7 separate regions of the Homo sapiens genome follow, and all the other regions are linked to region 7. The links are contacts of gene promoters, found by promoter capture Hi-C in blood cells and fetal thymus (Javierre and others, 2016). All regions are on one chromosome and are shown on one strand. The core of a region is centred on a gene start or on the middle of the fragment in contact, and the rest is flanking DNA. Distances in the headings are between cores, read along the strand shown.

Region 1 (2,798 bases), core at 145-2,644, 970 kb after region 7:
ATATGATAATGGGTATTTGTGTACAACATTCTGTGTTAATAAAGACATTGATATTCTCTATTCATTGAATCTCATTTGAAGATTAACTCTAGGCATTACATATTTTAAGATGATATTTACAAGTAGGAGTATAAAAAGAAGAATATGCTCAGGATGATCTTCTTGAAGGTAGTCTCTTTCCATTTCTGAAATCCCAGGCTCTCTAGCACAGGGCCTGAGACACACATGAGGTTTCACAAAGATTTGTTGTAGAAGAAACAATGCTTAGTGTCGACCAGGATTCAGTAAACTTTTTGTGTTAGTTTGTTCTCCTGCTACTAATAAGGACATACCTGAGACTGGGTAATTTATAGAGGAAAAAGGTTTAATTGACTCACAGTTCCACATGGTTGAAAAGGCCTCACAATCATGGCGGAAGGCGAAGGAGGAGCAAAGTCACATCTTACGTGGATGGAGGCAGGCAAAAAGAGAGCTTGTGCAGAGAAACTCCTGTTTTTAAACCTATCCATTTTCCTGTGACCCATTCACCATCACGAGAACAGTGCAGGAAAGACCTGCCCCCATGATTCAACTACCTTCCACCGGATCCTTCCCACGACACATAGGAACTACGGGAGCTACAATTCAAGATGAGACTTGGGTGGGGACACAGCCAAACCATACCCCCCCTTTTTTTTTTTAATGTAAAGGGACAGAGAGCAAATACTTTAGGTTTTGTGGGTCATAGTTGTTTGTGTTGCAACTACTCAACTCTTCCACATAACAGGAAACCAGTCAGAGGCAATGTGTAAACCAAAGGGCATGTGGTGTTTCTATACAATGTTATTTATAAAATGAGGCAGCTAGTCATACATGGCCCCCAGGCAGTACCATGCCCATCCCTTGTATAAAACAAAAATAACTAATTAAAGATATGATTTCTTTATTCCTTACTGGCAGCTTTCTGAAAGGTAATGTGGCCGTTTGTTGAGAAGTCAGAGGACAACATAACTAAATTAGAAAAATTTACAGAAGAGCAGGTATTTTTATCCTTTAGACAAGAAACATTATCTTACAGACATGAATGATATTTTCAGCAATTAGATCATCACTAGTGGTTCTAGTTGCCTCAAGACAGAGCTTTACTTATTGTTTGGTATATTCAAGTAATGGTAGATAGGATGTCAATCTACAGGTGTAATATTGTGCATATGGTTAAATATGAATCCAGATTCGGATATGTGGGTCCTGCTTTGAGCCTGAGAGTCTAACAAGCTCCCAGGTGATTCCCATACTGCTAGTCTGGGGCCAAGCTTTGAATAGCAAGAATTTAGCCCTGTGAAATAAATTCTTACTTTCTGAGATTTTAAAATAAATTTCTAAACTTAAGAATCTATTTGCAAATTATAGCTATAAAGTGCTTGGCATTAGGGTCCTCCCCAAATCTTGTCTTTTTTTCTTTCATTTTAGGAAATTATTTATATGATCGTTTACCTCTAAATTTTATCTGATTTAAAATAAGCTTGATTTCTCTAGTGCCAAAATACATCCTTATTCAGTATTTTACTATAGTGAAATAAAGTGCATTTAGATGGAGTAAATATTTTATGTATTAATATTTTAGAAGAAACACAAGATATCTTCACTTGTATCACATATATTTTATAATTACTTTCGTAATAACACAGACAACAAAAAAAAAGTGTTGAGAGCTGAGTATAAGCTGGTGACTCTCCCACATAATCTTACATTTATCTCACTCTTGCATTTTGCAGATCTAGGAATAGTGGCACAGAAAAGTTTACAAGTTCCTTAAGTAGGAGAGCCAAGATTTGTTTCAGAGCCTAACACTGCTGTAAACACTTTTCACACTAAATCATATGGCTAATATTAACAATAAATAATACAGCAACAGCAGATGAATGAGGATCCTGTATGTAGCCTAAAAATCTGTGAGTTTAAATATAAAAACCTGGCTCATCTCCATTATGTTAACTGAATAAAAATATAAGACAACTGTGCTTTCTGACTGCAAGGGGAAATCTCAAAGAAATTTTGTGCAAAGCCTCTGGTTATGAGGAAAAGAGAGAGGGGAAAAGGAAAAAGAGAGGAAGGCTGGAAAGAGCAAAAGTCCTCAGCTCTAGGTTGGAGAAAAACAAATGGTGACCAGAGTCAGTCCACGCGGCTCTGCAGATCCTGCGTCTTGCTTGGAGAAGCCATTAGAACGCAGCCCCCGGCAGGGAACCACGCCCAGCCTCCAGGCCACTGTAAAACAGCAGCGCCTTTTTCCACGAGAAGAATAGGCCAGTGTCTGTGCCACAAGCACTTTACCACATGCTCATTTTGGTTGAGAAAGCAGTGTTGAGGGGGAAAAAAAAAAAAAGCCAGAGTCATAGATTTTTCCTTACTTTTTTTCTAAGGCAAACAGAACACTTCCCCCACTCTGAATAAGCCTGAATAAATGACATGTGCGAAATGACATCTTTCTTTACTTGGAAAAAAGAATAAACCGACTTTTTTTTTAATATGTGTATGGACCTCAACGTTATCTCAGCAGATAACAATAATACCTGAATAACGTTGAAAATGTTTTTCATGAGAAATCATCTATCAGATGTTAAAAGAAACCATGACAAATAGAGGGATTGCCTGACTGGAGCATATATATACACACACATATACACACACACACACACACACACATATACACACACACACACACACACACATACACACACACACATATATACACACACACATACACACACACATATGTATATGCATATACATATACACATATGCATATATTTCCATATATG
Region 2 (2,700 bases), core at 116-2,615, 880 kb after region 7:
ATGCAGTTAGACAAACTGCTTCAAAAGCCACTGAAAACTCGACTCTGAGGTATAACAGGAACAAAAAGTATATGGTAAGTCATAAGGAGCTGGCAGAGCTGGGGTTCCAAGTAGTGTCTGTCCTGGAAATGTGTCAGCAGACAAGGGAAGGGTTTGTGGTCATCTGAGCTAGTAGGGTAAACACAAGTATAAATCTCAGGGTATTTCTGCAAGGCAGCCTGTGTCTTTGCTGCCAGACAAATGCAGCAAGAGCCATGGGTGCACAAATAACAGGGTGTGTTTAAAAATTCATGTGGCATGTGAAGTGAAAGCAAAGAGGCAGACTTGCCTCCAAAGCAGATAGTCCTGTGGGTGTGCAAGGCCATTTCAGAATACATGCAGAGAAAACAGGAGAATATGCTGTTTGCGTTTTTGGAAAGAGCTGATTTTAGTTGAAAAGGTAGAGGAAACCCTAGACATTGCACGGTTTTAGGCTTTAGCCCTACCTTTCTCACAAGCCTCCTGTCCAGGAGGGCCATTAGCATCTCAGATCTACTCAGTGTAAACCCCAAGGTTATTCCCACCTCTGCAAGCTGCCAGTCAGGGTCAGCTGAGAGATCAGCCTGGTGGGTGTGTGTGAGCAGAGTCACTTATGGCCAAGAGGAATTGTTCTGGGGGTTTGTTAGTAAGCAGGAGAAAGAAGGGGAGAAGAAAACTGTGTATGGGTGTTGAACACCTCCCACCGAAGCAAGTGAGGAATAAAGATCTCTTACCATTGAAGACCATGTCGAAGTCATGGAAACAAAATATGTTAATGGCCAAACGTATTAGAGACCCATGGCACCAAAGTATGTTAGCAGTGGAAGGTATCTGAGTCACATGGCACAAAAATATGTTCCCAGCAAAACATATCTGTGTCACGGCACCAAAGTATGTCACCAGCAGTAAATCCTTATGGGTCTACAGCAACCTCAATTCTTGCCTCTTCAGAAGAAATAATTCAAACAAGGAGGTATAAGGCAGAAGGAGAGATACAGACAAGTTTTAGAGCAGGAGTGAAAGTTTATTAGAAAGCTTTAGAACAGGAATGAAAGAAAGTAAAGTACACTTGGAAGAGGGCCAAGTGGGCGACTGGCGGGATCAAGTGTGTGGTTTGTCCTTTTGACTTGGAGTTTGATATGTTGACATGCTTCCTGGTTCTTGAGTCTCTTCTCCCTGATTCTTCCCTAGGGGTGGGCTGCCCGCATGTGCAGGGGCCTGCCAGCACTTGGGAGGTGAGCAGGCACAGCATGTTTATTGTATATGCATGCATGCTCACTTGAGGTGTCCTTCCCTAACCAGCCAAATATCCCTAGAAGGACATATACCAGTTAAACTCCACAATTTTGCCTCTTAGTGTGCATATTTGAGCCCAGTCACCCAGCTCCTGAGATCTTATTGGGAAGCTGCTGATCACCAGTCTCAGGTGTTTCTGCTTATTGGAAGACTGCCTTTCCCCGGCACTGGCTATAACCAATTATTATTTTAGAGAAACAGTATAACAGCTCCCTGACCTTCACTTGATGGTCCCCTGACATTCCTGTTTGGGACAGGGGGAAGGGGCTCTCCTACCCTGCTCATATCTAACTACCCACTTGTAAGAGCAATACAAAGAATAGATATATGGTCTTATATATACATCTTACGTACAATATCATTTCAAGCTTCTCACACTTCAAATTAAATGCTGCCATATTAACTCTAAGTAGCTTACAGTAAGTGAAAGATGCCTACTGTAATCCCTATAGTAAGCACTACAATTCACAAAATGGCATAGCCAAAAAGTCAATGGTAGAAGTAAAATGTAACACTGAAAGATTAACATAACCCAGAAGAAGGCAGAAAAGGAAGAACAGCAAAACAAAATCGGAAGAAATGAAAACACAATTACAGAAAATTAGCTAATGGAGATTAGAAAAATTACAAATGTAACCCAACTATACTAATTATTACATTAGCTGTTGTTATATTGTCAGATTTAATAAAATAATCAAGATCCAAACATCCTCTTTAAAAGATATGTATATTTAACATAAAGAAACAGGTAGACTAAAACAAGCAAGACCAAAAGACCTCTTTTGTTTTTTTAACTTTGTTTTAGGTTCAGGATATTTGCAGCAAATATCCTCTTTAAAGATATGTATATTTAATATAGGGCACAAATAGACTAAAACATAAAACATGGAAAAAGATATACTATCTAAAATGTAAAAATGTAAATTGTATGAATACTGTAATATCAAAGTATGCTCCAGTACAATAAACATTACCTGAAATAAAGCGCAGCATTTCATTAAGACATAACAATCATACATGTTTGCATACTTAATTAACAGAGCTTCAAAATACAGCCATGTACTGCATAAAGTTGTTTCTGTTTTGCATACATAACGGTGGTCCCATAGCATTATAATGGAGCTCAAAAATTTATAGCCGTTGTAATGCAGTGTGATGCATTACTCACGTGCCTGTAGTGGTGCTGATGTAAATATACCTACTTTATGATGTCAAAATGTTGTAGTAACTAAGTTGAATTTATGATTGAAGAAAAATATTTTTGATAAGTTTAGTGTAGCTGAAGTGTACAATGTGTATCTAGTCTACAGTAGAGTGCAGTGATGTGTTCGGCCTTCACATTCACTCACTAGTGCTTCATTGACTCACCCAGAGCAACTTCCAATC
Region 3 (2,873 bases), core at 306-2,805, 940 kb after region 7:
GAACTCACTATATCAAGAACACCAAGGGGAATATCCACCCTGGTAATCCAATTACCTCCCACCAGGCCCCTCCACCGACATTGGAGATTACAATTTAACATAATATTTGGCAGGGACAGAAATCCAAACCATAACAGTGGCTCATCACTAACTGTTCATATTCTATGTTTATTTTTACTCTTTCTCCTAGTCACTGAAATGCAACACACACACACACACACACACACACACACACACAAACACAATCTTTAAAATCAGCTTCAAATCAGAACTCTAACTGTCCAGTGAGAAAAATGAAATACACAAATTAGTATCATCTCAGCATCACTCTACCACGTTGATTACACTGAGATTGTTTTCTTTTCCTCTTGTCTTCTTCTCTTCTCGTCTTTCTTTTTTTCTGTGGGACCACTGTCTTCCCTTAGCTTCTGTTACAATTCTTTTAGGACTCTGTGAGTGCTTCTTTGGCACCGTTAAATCTTGGGATCTATGTTCAAAAGGGTCCAGAATCTAATAATATTACACCATTTTTCCTGCTAACATTCTGGTACAAACCACTATCATCTGTCAGCTGAATAACATTACCTTAAGCATTTTTCCTTCTGCAATCTACGCAAACTACAGTCTATCTCAACAGAACAGGCAATGTAAACTTTTATAAATATAAGTCAGCTCAGGTAACTGTTTGGCTCAGAATGGCTTCCCTGTTCACTCAAATTAAGAGCCCAAATCCTTGCTACGACCTGTGTACTTGGCCTAAGTCACTGTTTATTCTCAGATCTCATCTGCTTTTCTCCTACTTGCTCTGTCCACTATAAACACACATTTCCAGGTATTCTTCAGTCTAAGGCTTCTGAACCTACTGTTTTTTTCTCCCCCCAATCTTCACATTGTTAGATGTCACACCTGCTTCAGAACTTTTCTCAAGTATTACCTTCTCAGCCAGGGTTTCCCTAACCCTTATTTTAAAAATTATAACCTCTCCTCTCCTCCTGACACTAAGTACTCTATTCCCTTTTCCTGCTTTATTTTTCTTTCTCACATATACCACCTTCTAACATTTACTGTATCTTACCTTTTTATAAGAGGTAAGCTTCATAAGGTAAATTTGTGTTGTTTATAGTTCTAGTACCAGGACATACAACAAAGCCTGGAATATAGGAAGTGTTCAATAAATACTTTTTGGATAAATGAATGAACAAATAAATGAATACCCAGAAACAAGGAAATTGAAGACATAAGAGGAAAAGCCCTCTATTAAATAAAAGTTTGAACTGTACCCAAATAAATCATACATTTATTGGTGGGAAAATTGGTTGCTTTATAATTAAGTTTAATATATCCTGTGTATTATAATCACAATTTTATTTGAAATGGTATTTTAATTTAACTCAAGTTGTTGTAAGCTAAATGGCTCATGTGCTCCTCATTAGGAGATGAAATTTCATCAGTTTTCTCAAAAGTTTTGCTTTCCTTACCTGATCCACTTAGTAATCAGTTAGGCAATTAAGACAATTAATTGAGAAGTGGGTAAAAAAATACTAACAATATGACTTTTGTGTGCGTGTGTGTGTGTGTGTGTGGTAGAAAATCCTGATTATTGACAATGGAAAACTACCTAGAAAATTAGGAAAAATCTATCTAGGCATTTACATAACAGAAAGTCATGTCCTTTTTCAAGCCAGTACTTTACAAGGAATACCTTAAATTTATCCAAACTCATACAGTCCCAAACTAAAAGTCATGACTCAGGGTTCTAGTGCTGACTCTACTATCGAGGTGGCTGATATAGTTTGTATGTTTGTCATCTCCAGCTTTCCTGTTGAGATGTGATCCCCAGTGTTGGAGGTGGGACCTAGTGGGAGGTGTTTTTGTCATGGGGGTGGATATGCCATGAATGGCTTGGTATTGTCCCTTAGTAATGAGTAAATTCTCCCTCTATCAATTTCCATGAGATCTTGTGGTTAAGAGAGAGGCACCTTCTTCCCCTTTTTTGCTGTCTCTCAGTATGTTACAAGCAAGCTTCGCTTGGCTTCCACTATGAGTAAATGCTTCCTGAGGTCCTGACCAGAATCAGATGTTGGTGCCATGCTTCTTGTACAGCCTGCAAAACCATAAGCCAAATAAACCTCTTTTTCGTTATAAATTACCCAGCCTCAGGTATTTCTTCATAGCAAAGGGAAATGAACTAATACAGTGGCCATAGCCAAGTATATTGATCAGATTCCATTTAACTATTAATAAATTGTTTGACCAATAAATTATCAGATATATACCATGGGCCAGTAAATGGATATCTTGCTATAGATTGGGCATTCTATACACTTAATTAAGCAAGGACCATGCTCTTCATATGATAAATTCCTACACTCAATGTTTAGTCCCCTTGGGCAAAATGAGATACAGAATATAAGCTGTAATAGGAAGAACTACATGGTATATGTTCACATGGACTTTGGAGTCAGGTGAGTCATACTGTTTGTCCCAACTTACTCTCTTTTAATTGTGCAATAGGAAAGTCCCTTTATATTTTTTTGCAGAAAATTTTGTTATGTTTAAATGTGAATAATTGTATCTATTTCATATTAGTCTTTTACATAATAAATATATGCAGAACACTTATAGTGCCAGAGAAAATAAATACCCAATGTATGGTATAGCTACAGCCCTGATCCCATTCCTCCTGAGACCTCCCAAAAGGGATCTCCAGCCATCTAATCCAGGCACATTCAGGTCAGCAACAGATCAGTACCCCTCTGGGACAGAGAGCTTCCAGAGGAAGGAGTAGGCTGCCATATTTGCCATTTCACAGCCTTCACTGGTGATACCTCCAGGTAGGGAAAAATTCGAGGCAACTAGGCTCTGGAGTGGAC
Region 4 (2,739 bases), core at 114-2,613, 920 kb after region 7:
AAGAATGTTTTCCTCATGTATTATTGGTACATTATAGAAAATGTAAACATCCCCCTAGGTAGAAGCCATCTATTTTGTTAGTGGTGAGAAGATTATATTAATAATTCTTTTTTTAAATTTATTTCTTACATTTTAAGTTCTGGGATACATGTGCAGAATGTGCAGGATTGTTATATAGGCATACACATACAATGGTGGTTTGCTGCACCCATCAACTTATCATCTACATTAGGTATTTCTCTTAATGTTGTCCCTCCCCTAGCCCTCTACCCCCTGACAGGCCCCACTATGTAATACTCCCCTCCCTGTGTCCATGTGTTCTCATTGTTCAACTCCCACTTATGAGTGAGAACATGTGGTGTTTGGTTTTCTGTTCTTGCGTTAGTTTGCTGAGAATGATGGTTCCCAGCATCATCCGTGTTCCTGCAAAGGACATGAACTCATCTTTTTATGTCTTCATAGTATTCCATGGTGTATATGTGCCACATTTTCTTCATTCAGTCTATCATTGATAGGCATTTGGGTTAGTTCCAAGTCTTTGCTATTGTGACAGTGCTGCAATAAACATACATGTGCATGTGTCTTTATAGTAGAATAATTGATAATCCTTTGGGTATACAACCAGTAATGGGATTGTTGGGTCAAATGGTATTTCTGGTTCTAGATCCCAGAGGAATCACCAGACTGTATTTCACAATGATTGGACTAATTTGCACTCCCACCAACAGTGTAAAAGCATTCCTATTTCTCCACATCCTCTCTAGCATCTGTTGTTTGCTGACTTTTTAATGATCGCCATTCTAACTGGCGTGAGATGGTATCTCATTGTGGTTTTGGTTTGCATTTCTGTAATGACCAGTGATGATGAAATTTTCCATATGTTTGTTGGCCACATAAATGTCTTCTTTTGAGAAGTGTCTGTTAATATCCTTCACCCACTTTCTGATGGGGTCGTTTGTTTTTTTTCTTGTAAATCTGTTTAAGTTCTTTGTAGATTCTGGATGTTAGCCCTTCGACAGACGGATAGATTTCAATAATTTTCTCCCATTCTATAGGTTGCCTGTTCATTCTGACGATAGTTTCTTTTGCTGTGCAGAAGCTCTTTAGTTTAATTAGATCCCATTTGTCAATTTTTGGCTTCTGTTGCCATTGCTTTGGTTTTTTAGTCATGCAACTTCAGCAAAGTCTCAGGATACAAAATCAATGTGCAAAAATCACAAGCATTCCTGTACACCAATAATAGACAAACAGAGAGCCAAATCATGAGTGAACTCCCATTCACAATTGCTACAAAGAGAATACAACTTACGAGGGATGTGAAGGACCTCTTCAAGGAGAACTACAAACCATTGCACAAGGAAATAAGAGAGGACACAAACAAACAGAAAAACATTCCATGCTCATGGATAGGAAGAATCAATATTGTGAAAATGGCCATACTGCCCAAAGTAATTTATAGATTCAATGTTATCCCCATCAAACTACCATTGACTTTCTTCACAGAATTAGAAAAAACTACTTTAAATTTTATATGGAACCAAAAAAGAGTCTGTATAGCCAAGACAATCCTAAACAAAAAGAACAAAGCTGGAGGCATCGTGCTACCTGACTTCAAACTGTACTACAAGGCTACAGTAACAAAAACAGCATGGTACTGGTACCAAAACAGATATACGGACCAATGGAACAGAATAGAGGCCTCAGAAATAACGCCACACATTGCAACCATCTGATCTTTGACAAACCTGACAAAAACAAGCAATGGGGAAAAGATTCCCTATTTAATAAATGGTATTGGGAAAACTGGCTAGCCATATGTAGAAATCTGAAACTGGACCCCTTCTTCATACCTTATATAAAAATTAACTCAAGATGGATTAAAGACTTAAACGTAAGATGTAAAACCATAAAAACCCTAGAAGGAAACCTAGGCAATACCATTCAGGACATAGGCATGGGCAAAGACTTCATAATTCTTTAATTCATATATTAATTCATATATTAATATAATTCTTTAATGCCTACATAACAATCCTGTACATTCTGCACATGTATCCCAGAACTTAAAATATAATAAATAAATTTTAAAAAAGAATTATTAATATAATCTTCTCACCACTAACAAAATAGATGGCTTCTACCTAGGGGGATGTTTACATTTTCTATTATGTATCGTACCAATAATACATGAGAAAAACATTTATAGTGACTTCTTTATTCCCTAGGCATTTTAATAGTCTGTATATGGAGTTGTAAAAAAAAAAAAAAAAAAAAAAAAACCTAAGCCATAGTCTGCTCTTGACTAGGCCACAGAATAGTTGGCAAGACAAATGTGTAAAGAGATATGCATAATGCATTGCTGTAGACTTAATAAAATGTGGGGCAACAGTTGATGGAAAACAAAAGAGGGAAGTACCTTGGGAGCCAGAAAAGGCTACACAGAGGAAGTGACACTTTAACTTGGTTTTGGTAGAACTTTCTAAAGGTTGAGAAAAAGTAGAAGGACAGTACAGAGACAAGACTCAGGCCAGGTACAAAACCGGGAAAGGTTCTCGGGAGTGAAAAGTCTGGCTGTGTGAGCTTCAGGCAGCCTGAGAACTTTCCATTTCATGCACAGGAAGAAAAGCAAAATTTCCAGTGAATTAACACAAAGTTTCTTTTGATTTCTTATAATGAGATAAAAGTTATAATTACACTATACCTATACCAAGCAATGTTTTTTCTCTCTTTCTCTCTCTC
Region 5 (2,914 bases), core at 22-2,521, 910 kb after region 7:
GTCTAGAATTTATTCCTTCCAGTGGGTTCTTGGTCTCGCTGGCTTCAAGAATGGAGCCGCAGACCTTTGCAGTGAGTGTTACAGCTCATAAAGGTGTTGCAGACCCAAAGAGTGAGCAGCAGCAAGATTTACTGTGAAGAGCGAAAGAACAAAGCTTCCACAGCATGGAAGGGCACTTTCCGCTGCTGGCTCAGGTGGCCAGCTTTTATTCCCTTATTTGGCCCCACCCACATCCTGCTGACTGGTCCATTTTACAGAGCCCTGATTGGTCCATTTTACAGAGTGCTGATTGGTGTGTTTACAATCCTTTATCTAGACACTGAGCACTGATTGGTGCGTTTTTACAGAGGGCTGATCAGTGCGTTTATTTTCCTTTAGCTAGACACAGAGCGCTGATTGGTGCGTTTTTACAGAGTGCTGATTGGTGCATTGACAATCCTTTAGCTAGACACAGAGTGCTGATTGGTGCATTTTTACAGAGTGCTGATTGGTGCATTTACAATCCTTGAGCTAGACACAGAGCGCTGATTGCGTTTACAATCCTCTAGCTAGATAGAAAAGTTCTCCAAGTCCCCACTTGACCCAGGAAGTCCAGCTGGCTTCACTTCTCAATATGTAGAAAATTGAAACTGGACCCCTTCCTTACACCACATACAAATATTAAATCAAAAGAGATTAAAAACCTAAATGTAAAACTCAAAACTAAGAAAACCTTGAAAGACAGCTGAGGCAATACCATTCGGGACATAGGCCATGAGCAAAGATTTCATGAGAAAAATGCCAAAGGCAACTGCAAGAAAACAAAAAATTGACAAATGGGACCTAACTAAACTGAAGAACTCTGCACAGCAAAAGAAACTGTCTGCAGAGTAAACAGACCACCTACAGAATGGGAGAAAATGTTTGCACTGATTTACTTTCACAAAGTCAGTTTGTGAAAGAAAAAGAGAACAAGTGGAATTTGAAAGGCAATGGCTAATTTCTTATGCATCAGTGAAGACATTGGAATCCAATAGAGTTGAGTGCAAAGGTGAGCACACTGCTTTCTTGCTGTGTAACTTTGAATAATTAACATAAACGTTTAAGTAGATTTTCTTATACCAGTACTCATCACTTAGGATTGTGATCAGGATGGAAGTATTATGGTCTAAAAGTTCCACATACAACAATACCTGGCATATAATATTTAACAAGTGATAATATACTTATCTTCTCATTTGAATGAATAACTTTTAACCTTGAAATATAAAGGAATTTGCTAGGTCACACTGACTAATTACAAAGGTTAAATTGATTAAAGTTTCTGTACTTAGGTTTGCCTGATAAAATATTTAAAAACTATGTATTTTGGTTTAATAAGCCTGGCTACTGTAGCTGTACTTCAGAGAATTTTATAAAATGTTTCAGAAAGAAGAATGAATTTTTATGTTACCAAATCCATACATACAACACTAGGCACTGGGTGACTGCCTCCATCACAATGCTTAGAATATATTATCCCATAATCAGAGTTCTTTTATATAAGGATGATAGGAAAATAATTGACAAATGCATTTAAATCAATCTAAAAATGTTGGAGGAATAAGAATTCACTAAGTTTATATCAATGCTTATAGAATGAAAATCAACCATTATAAAAGCATTTATTTGTTGTATCTTTTATTTTAAAAGCAATTCATTATAGCTAGACCTAACTAATAAGCAAACTATGTTGCAACTAGGATCAGAATCAACATTGAGCCTAGTCAGTGAAAAGGCACATGAAAATTAAATTTATCAAGAAAAAGTTTGCTTTGCAATGTACTACATAACTGTGTTCAACTTAGAAAATCATTTGTAAGAAACAGCAGATATTTGCCTCGACTTCAGAATATGATCCTTAAAAATGAAATCTGAAACATTTTACATTGCATCCTTGATTTCTGAAATAAATATAATTCAGGATACAACTGTCTTCCCATAAGAATTACTTTCTTAACTTTAACCATAAATTAAAGTGACCAAAGATTGTATGAATCGTATAGCATCGAGATAATGAATAAAATCTTCAACTCTAAGTTGCAAGAAGATGCAAAATATTTTTTTTCCTCTAAGGAGAAGCTGATCACTTACCTTCTGGCTTCTTCTTAATATATTCACATATATTAATTAGCATCAATTTTGAAAATCAAAGTAAATATTTATTTACTATGTGGATGATGGGAATATGAAAACCACAAAGGCTCACCATTACTCTGGCCAATATTCTTATAGTCAATAAACATATTTCCTTGAGAAAACTACAATGGTTACCCCTATTCAAGGAGGAACTATAGAATTTTGAGATATAATGGAAGTTGTAGAGTAGTATTTCATTGAGTAAAGATCTCTTCAAGGGGCAATAATAAGAGAAGCTTATAACATACAAAATAATGATGATGTAGCAACTGAGAAAACTCCTTTAATACTCTGATATTTCTTCCCCCCTTCCTCCCTGCTGCTCTTCTCATTTCTTCATTTTTCATGCATCATTCTTACATTCTCCTTCTGCATCTGCCTTCTTTTCTCTTCCTCTGTGGTTCTGCATGATGTTTCTATTTTCCCTCTTTATATGGCTTACGTATGTTTTGGATGTCTCTTCTTTCTGTTCACATCACGTGTATTTGATTTTCAAAGCCAAATCCAAATAGTAGTATCCTTTTTCTTCTAAATTGAAATAGTGCTTACATGTCCTGACCATTTCAACCCACCTTTTACATTATCATATACCTATCAGAGGCATATATCAGGCTCTCCATCAACTTAGACATTTTTGTGTATACATTCTACAGCTATAGGTATGCAAACACTTCAAAAATATAACTAATCATTGAATTCTGCACAACCCTTAAGCACTTATATTGATTAAAATAAATTTTTGAATAAACAGTTTTGT
Region 6 (2,745 bases), core at 102-2,601, 840 kb after region 7:
CCAGTTAGTTTTTCTGTGCATATACATTTATTTGTGTATGTTCTACAAAATATATTTTATATGTATAGTTTTGTACCTTTCTATATGTTCCATTTACAGTTCTGTAACTTTTTTTCTTTCATAATGAATGGGTATTGAAATTTGTTAATTTACATTTCTGCCTCAAATGAGAGGCTCATATAATTTTTCTTTGTTAGCTTGTTGATAAGGTAGATCATATTGATCGATTTTCAAAAGTTGAACTAGCCTTCCACACCTGAAATAAATCATATTTGATTTTGATGCAAAATTATTTTTATACATTTGTTGGATTTAGTCTGATAGTATATTATTGAGAATTTTGACCTCTACATTCATGAAAAGTATTGATCAGTATTTTTCTTTGCTTACAATTATCTATTTGTTTTTTGGTATTAGGTTAATTGTGGTTTCATAGAATAAATAGGAAATGTTATTCCTCCTATTTTCTGGAAGATTGTAGAAAATTGGTATGATTGCATTGTTACATGTTTGATAGAATTAACCAGTGAACCAACAGGCCTGGTGCTTTCTTTTTTCAAAGGTTATTAATTATATATTTAACCCTTTTTATATTTATAGGACAATTTAGAGTATTTATTTCTCTTTCTTATAGTTTTTGTCCTTCAAGGAATAGGTCCATTCCATCAAAGTTATGAAATTGGTGGGTGAACACCTATCAGTAGTATTGCTTTATTTTTGTATTACTTTCCATGGATCAGTAGTGATGACCATGCCCTCATTTCTGATATTGGTAAGTTGTATCTTTCTTTTTTTCTTGGTTAGCCTGGCTAGATATTTACAAATTTTCTTGATCTTTTCCATGAATCAGATTTTGTTTCATTAATTTTCTCTATTGTTATCCTGTTTCAATTATATATTTTTCTTCTGTAATTCTTATTATATCGTGTATTTTCTTGCATCAGGGTTAGTCTTTTCCTCTTTTTACAGTTTTTAAAAGTTTAAACATAGGTTATTTATTTTAGATCTTTCTTTTTTAGCATATTTATTTCATGCTAGAAATTTTCCAATAACCATCACTTATTTTTCATTATATTTTATAAATTTTGATGTTATATTTTTAGTTTCATTTAGTTTTAACTATTTTTTATTTCTTTTGAGATCTTTTCTTGGCTCAAGATTTATTTAGCAGTTCTATTTTTTAACATCAAAATATTTGAGAATTTTCAGGTCTGTGATTGCTTCCTTGCTGAATTCCATGTAATCTGAAAACATACTTTGTATAATTTCTTATATTTTAAATTTCAGAAGGTGTGTTTTATTACCCTACATATTGTCTATCTTGGTAAATGTTCCATGTGAAATGGAAAAGAATGTTTATTTTAATGTTGGGTAGAATAGTCTTTAAATGTCAATCGGGTCAGCTTACTGATAGCGTTACTCAGGTCAACTATATTTTTACTTGTGTTTTGCCTACTTGATCCTATTAATTATAACACGTCATGTTGAATTCTTCATGTGCAATAATTGTTTTGCCTTTTTTACCTTTCAATTCTATCCGCATTGTTTCGTGTATGTTGACACTCTTTTTAGAGGTATACGTATTTAAGATTGTTGTCTTTTTGAAAAATGGACATTTTTGCAATTATGTAATGTCTCTCCTTATTGCTGATAGTTTTTCCTGTTCTGAAGTCAGCTGTCCGATATGCAGCTATCTACTGCAGCTTTCTACTGATTATTTTTAACACAGGATATCTTTGTTTATACTTTACTCTTAATCTGGTTGAATGTTTATTTTTAAAATGGGGTTTCTCATTAACAACATATAGTTCATTGGGTCTTGAGTTGTTATTTTAATCCACTCTCACAATCTCTGTTGTTTAATTGGCGCATTTATTCATATTTAAGGTGCTTATTGATATAGAAGGATTAACAGATAACATGTCTGTATGCTAATATGTTTATATTTTTTTCTATTCCATTGTATTTGTTCTATGTTTCTCTTTTCCTTGTTTATCTGCCTTCTCTACTTTTAATTGAATATTTTCTATAATTCAATTCTTCTGATTTTTTTATTCTTAGTATATCAATTATATTTCATTGTTTAATAATTGTGTGCTTTTCAAGAACCTATGATATTTATTTTTAACATTACACATAACTACACTTCATGGAAATGTAACCTTTATGACATTTCTGTCATTTATTGAATTTTACTTGGCATAGTCACACAAAACATTGTTACTATTATTGCTTAAAATACCTGTCTTTTAGATCAATTAAAATTAAGAAAAAATACGGTTTTTGGGAGGCCGAGGCGGGCGGGTCACGAGATCAGGAGATCGAGACCACGGTGAAACCCTGTCTCTACTAAAAATACAAGAAAAATTAGCCATGCTCGGTGGCGGCTGCCTGTAGTCCCAGTTACTCGGGGGGCTGAGGCAGGAGAATGACGTGAACCCGGGAGGCGGAGCTTGCAGTGAGCCGAGATCACGCCACTGCACTCCAGCCTGGGCGACAGAGCAAGACTCTGTCTCAAAAAAAAAAAAAATACGGTTTTTATTCTACTTTCATTTACCCTTCCAACACCTTTTTTTATGTAGATCTAAGTTTCTGACATAAATTAATTTTTTTTCTGCCTGAAGAACTTCAAATGTTTCCTGAGGACAGGTCTGCTGAAAAAGATTTCCTCCATTTTTATTTCCCTAGAATAGTCTTTACTTATTCTCGCTTTTGGAAAATAATTTTGGTAGATATATTTTTCTG
Region 7 (2,793 bases), core at 90-2,589:
CAAACCTCAAACCACATTCCTCCACTCCAGGCCTCCGTTCTGTCCGCGGACTTATGATCCTGCCTGCCAGCAGGAGTCTACCCTGAAGTCGCGTGGGATAGATAAAGTGAGGAGAGGAGGATGAATGGACAGACAAACGAGAGCAATTCTTCTACCTGTGGGCTGTCCTACGCCTTGCAGTGCCGGGTCCTGCGGCGACCACTGAGCCCCTTCGTCCTCGCCCTCAGTCCCTTCGTCCTCGTCTTCGGTCTCCGCTTTCCCAGTCGGCCGGGGCTCGTCGTCCACGACCCCGCACGTGCCGCCGACGTCGCCCTGCCGATTCCGCCGCAGGAGGTGGAACTGTAGTGGTGCCGGCGGCTTCTCCCCTGGGGCGGCGGTGGCGAGGCGCTCGCTGGCGGCGGGCAGCGGCTGGATGAAATACGCCTCCCCCAGCAGGTAGAAGGCGCCGCGCACGCCCTCGCAGAGGCTGAGGGCGGCAGCCGAGCTGGGATCGCCATTCACGGTGCCGGAGTAGAAGCAGTGCGCCAGGTCGGTTTCCGGAAGCGGCGTCTCGGACCCGGATTTGCGCCCCACGTTCTGGAGCGTGAAGCCGGGCGCCAAAAAGCTGCTGTCGGGCCGCAGCTCCAGATCCAGCTGCTGGTCAAAGGCGTGCAGGCGGAGGCGCGTGGTCCCGTGTCCCGGGGCGCGCTCCAGCTCCGGCACCACTAGCTCCTCGTCCTCCTCGGAGGGGCGCCCGAGTGCGTCCGACACGGCCAGTAGCGCCGCGGCGAGCAGCAGCAGCGTGGGTACTGGCCCAAAGCTCCGAGACCCCGGAGCCCGCTCCGCGTTCCCCATGTCGCTGCCCAGCTTGCGCCTTCCGAACCCCTCGGGCACAGCTCGCTGCATTGGAGCCCCAGGAGACACCGCTCGTAGCAGCGCACGGAGCGAGGGACCTTTAGTTCGGGTCGGGAGAGCAAAGCCTCGTTGGCCTGCTCTGGATTGTTAAAATTAACAATTTCTATTATTCGTTGGAAGGGCGCGCAGAGCCGGCTACAGCCGAAGCTCCCGGAGTCACTAAAAGGAGGCGCTGCAGTTCTGCCGGCGCGCGGGAAGTTTTTCTTCCAGCGCAAAGTTGGAGACACTGAGAGGCAGGCGCAGGCAGAGTGGCTCTGCTGGGACAAGAAGCGCTCTGGGGCGCCTCCGGGGCTGAGGCAACGCGGAGATTGGTGCCTGGCGCCCCTCTTCGGCCTCCGCCTTGGCTGCGATGTTGCTCACTCTGCTCAGGGCTCTCCCCTCTCCGTCCGGTAGCGCACCCTGGCTTTGCAATAGCCCCTGGCTCGGAGCCGCTTTCCAGCGAGTGCAAGAACCGGGCAGCCGAGCGGTCCTTTTATAGTGGACCAGTGAAACCCCCACCCCCACCCCACTCCTCCCCTTTGGCCCTTTTCCATCCCAAAGACGCCGCCCCCGGCTCCGTTGGTGCTAAACCGCGCTCCGCGCTGCGGGCTCGGGAGGGGGAGGGGGCAGCCTCCGCGCTGGCTCCACGCCACTGCTCGTCAATCTAGGGGCGGAAGGGGCGCTGTGACCAGCACTTTGTACTGCTGGGGCCGCTCCAGGGAGAAGACTCTCCCTTCCACCGCTTTTCTCCCTCGCCGGTTTCCTGGACCACCCTTCCTCCCCACCGCCCGGTTGCGGTAACTCAGTTACCGCGCTGGGCTGCGGTTCCCAGGAGGGAGGGTTCGGTTGGAGAACGCAGTCCCTTCTTCAACATTTCCCTATCCTGGAGCTGCCCTGGGTCTCCTTCCCTCCTCCCTCAGTTCCCTCTTCCCCAATCTAGGAGATGAGCTAGGGCTACACTTTCTAGAAAAATACCTCACCCCACTTCTCCACCTTCCCAGCCTGCCAGGAGCTCCTTAGCCGCCGCCTGCTCTCTCTTCGCCCCAGCTTTTCTAGGGAAAGCTTGGCCCTGCGCTTCCCCCAGAAAGCATGCCTGGGTGAGGGGCCAGGTGACACTTCCTACGATCTGGATTTTAAAATATGTTTGCTTATGCCTTCACCCTCCACCAACCCCCACCCCGCACGCCACCTCTTCACCAGAGACGACTTTGTGAGGGCCCGGTTTCACATTTCTGGAATGGGTGATCTGGGACGCGGCTCAATTCCCTAGAGCATAAGGAGGGAATTGCGCTTTTTCTTCTTCATTCGAGAAATGATCGGCTCCCGCCAGTCTGCGTGCTTTCACTCAACAGCAGCTGCAAGCCCTAGGCCAGCGTCGCAGAAACGGCCAGGAACCCCACTTTCCTACCCGGGGGCCAGCAGCGATCGCTGGGGCTAGCAAGCGTGCAGAGGGGGAAAGAAGGAAATCGGCTTCCTTCCCGGACCCCTCCTTCCTCTTCCTACCAGGAAGGGAAAAGGCTATATCCGCGTTACGAAAGCGAGGAGAGGTCCACCAACAGGTCCTTAGGAAAAAAAACTGAGTGGCTCTTCTCTCCAAAAAGTGGGAGGGGCTCAAGGACCCAGAGGAAGGACGTGTTTCACAGGCGGAAAGCCGCGGGGACAATGGCGAGAGCGACCGCCCTAGCCCCGGGCGGACCCGCAACCCTCACACTCGCGCGCCCCCGCGTTAGTGCTCGAACTGGTCTCCGCCTTTCCGCCCCACTCCCGTCCGGTCTCTTGGTTGGCTCCAAGTAGATCTGGGTCCTTTCCTCGCTCCTCCCCAGATCTTCCCCACTTCAGTTGGCCCCAGCCAGAAGCGTCCCTTCTAGTTCTCCCACACGTCCCTCTTACAAGCTTTCTTTTCCGGATGCTTTCCAACTT

The links. Contacts are between HindIII fragments. The CHiCAGO score rates a contact against its expected background, and 5 or more counts as called.
Region 1: a fragment that was not itself captured here is called in contact with the fragment with the promoter of ADAMTS1 in region 7 in 1 of 17 cell types (M1 macrophages); the score reaches 5.9 in M1 macrophages.
Region 2: a fragment that was not itself captured here is called in contact with the fragment with the promoter of ADAMTS1 in region 7 in 2 of 17 cell types (monocytes and M0 macrophages); the score reaches 6.0 in monocytes.
Region 3: a fragment that was not itself captured here is called in contact with the fragment with the promoter of ADAMTS1 in region 7 in 1 of 17 cell types (M1 macrophages); the score reaches 5.4 in M1 macrophages.
Region 4: a contact is called between a fragment that was not itself captured here and the fragment with the promoter of ADAMTS1 in region 7, in 1 of 17 cell types (endothelial precursors). The highest score is 5.6, in endothelial precursors.
Region 5: a contact is called between a fragment that was not itself captured here and the fragment with the promoter of ADAMTS1 in region 7, in 1 of 17 cell types (endothelial precursors). The highest score is 5.1, in endothelial precursors.
Region 6: a fragment that was not itself captured here is called in contact with the fragment with the promoter of ADAMTS1 in region 7 in 5 of 17 cell types (monocytes, M2 macrophages, erythroblasts and 2 more); the score reaches 10.7 in monocytes.

The regions. Positions count from the first base shown.
Region 1 is chr21:27,811,703-27,814,500 of GRCh38, forward strand. No RefSeq gene overlaps it. Among named protein-coding and RNA genes, the nearest start is that of LINC00113, 91 kb to the left of the region's middle. The HindIII fragment of the contact is 209 bases long and covers 1,291-1,499 here.
Region 2 is chr21:27,725,946-27,728,645 of GRCh38, forward strand. All of the region lies in intron 1 of LINC00113 (long intergenic non-protein coding RNA 113), which reads left to right. Among named protein-coding and RNA genes, the nearest start is that of LINC00113, 4.9 kb to the left of the region's middle. The HindIII fragment of the contact is 629 bases long and covers 1,052-1,680 here.
Region 3 is chr21:27,784,789-27,787,661 of GRCh38, forward strand. No RefSeq gene overlaps it. Among named protein-coding and RNA genes, the nearest start is that of LINC00113, 64 kb to the left of the region's middle. The HindIII fragment of the contact is 929 bases long and covers 1,092-2,020 here.
Region 4 is chr21:27,767,571-27,770,309 of GRCh38, forward strand. No RefSeq gene overlaps it. Among named protein-coding and RNA genes, the nearest start is that of LINC00113, 47 kb to the left of the region's middle. The HindIII fragment of the contact is 6,979 bases long and covers 1-2,739 here.
Region 5 is chr21:27,751,246-27,754,159 of GRCh38, forward strand. No RefSeq gene overlaps it. Among named protein-coding and RNA genes, the nearest start is that of LINC00113, 30 kb to the left of the region's middle. The HindIII fragment of the contact is 2,239 bases long and covers 153-2,391 here.
Region 6 is chr21:27,685,156-27,687,900 of GRCh38, forward strand. No RefSeq gene overlaps it. Among named protein-coding and RNA genes, the nearest start is that of LINC00113, 36 kb to the right of the region's middle. The HindIII fragment of the contact is 3,168 bases long and covers 1-2,745 here.
Region 7 is chr21:26,844,070-26,846,862 of GRCh38, forward strand. ADAMTS1 (ADAM metallopeptidase with thrombospondin type 1 motif 1) reads right to left here and starts at 1,340. Exons shown (of 9, transcript NM_006988.5): 1 at 156-1,340. The coding sequence starts at 885. RefSeq lists enhancers at 1,524-2,124, 2,125-2,724. The HindIII fragment of the contact is 3,865 bases long and covers 1-1,933 here.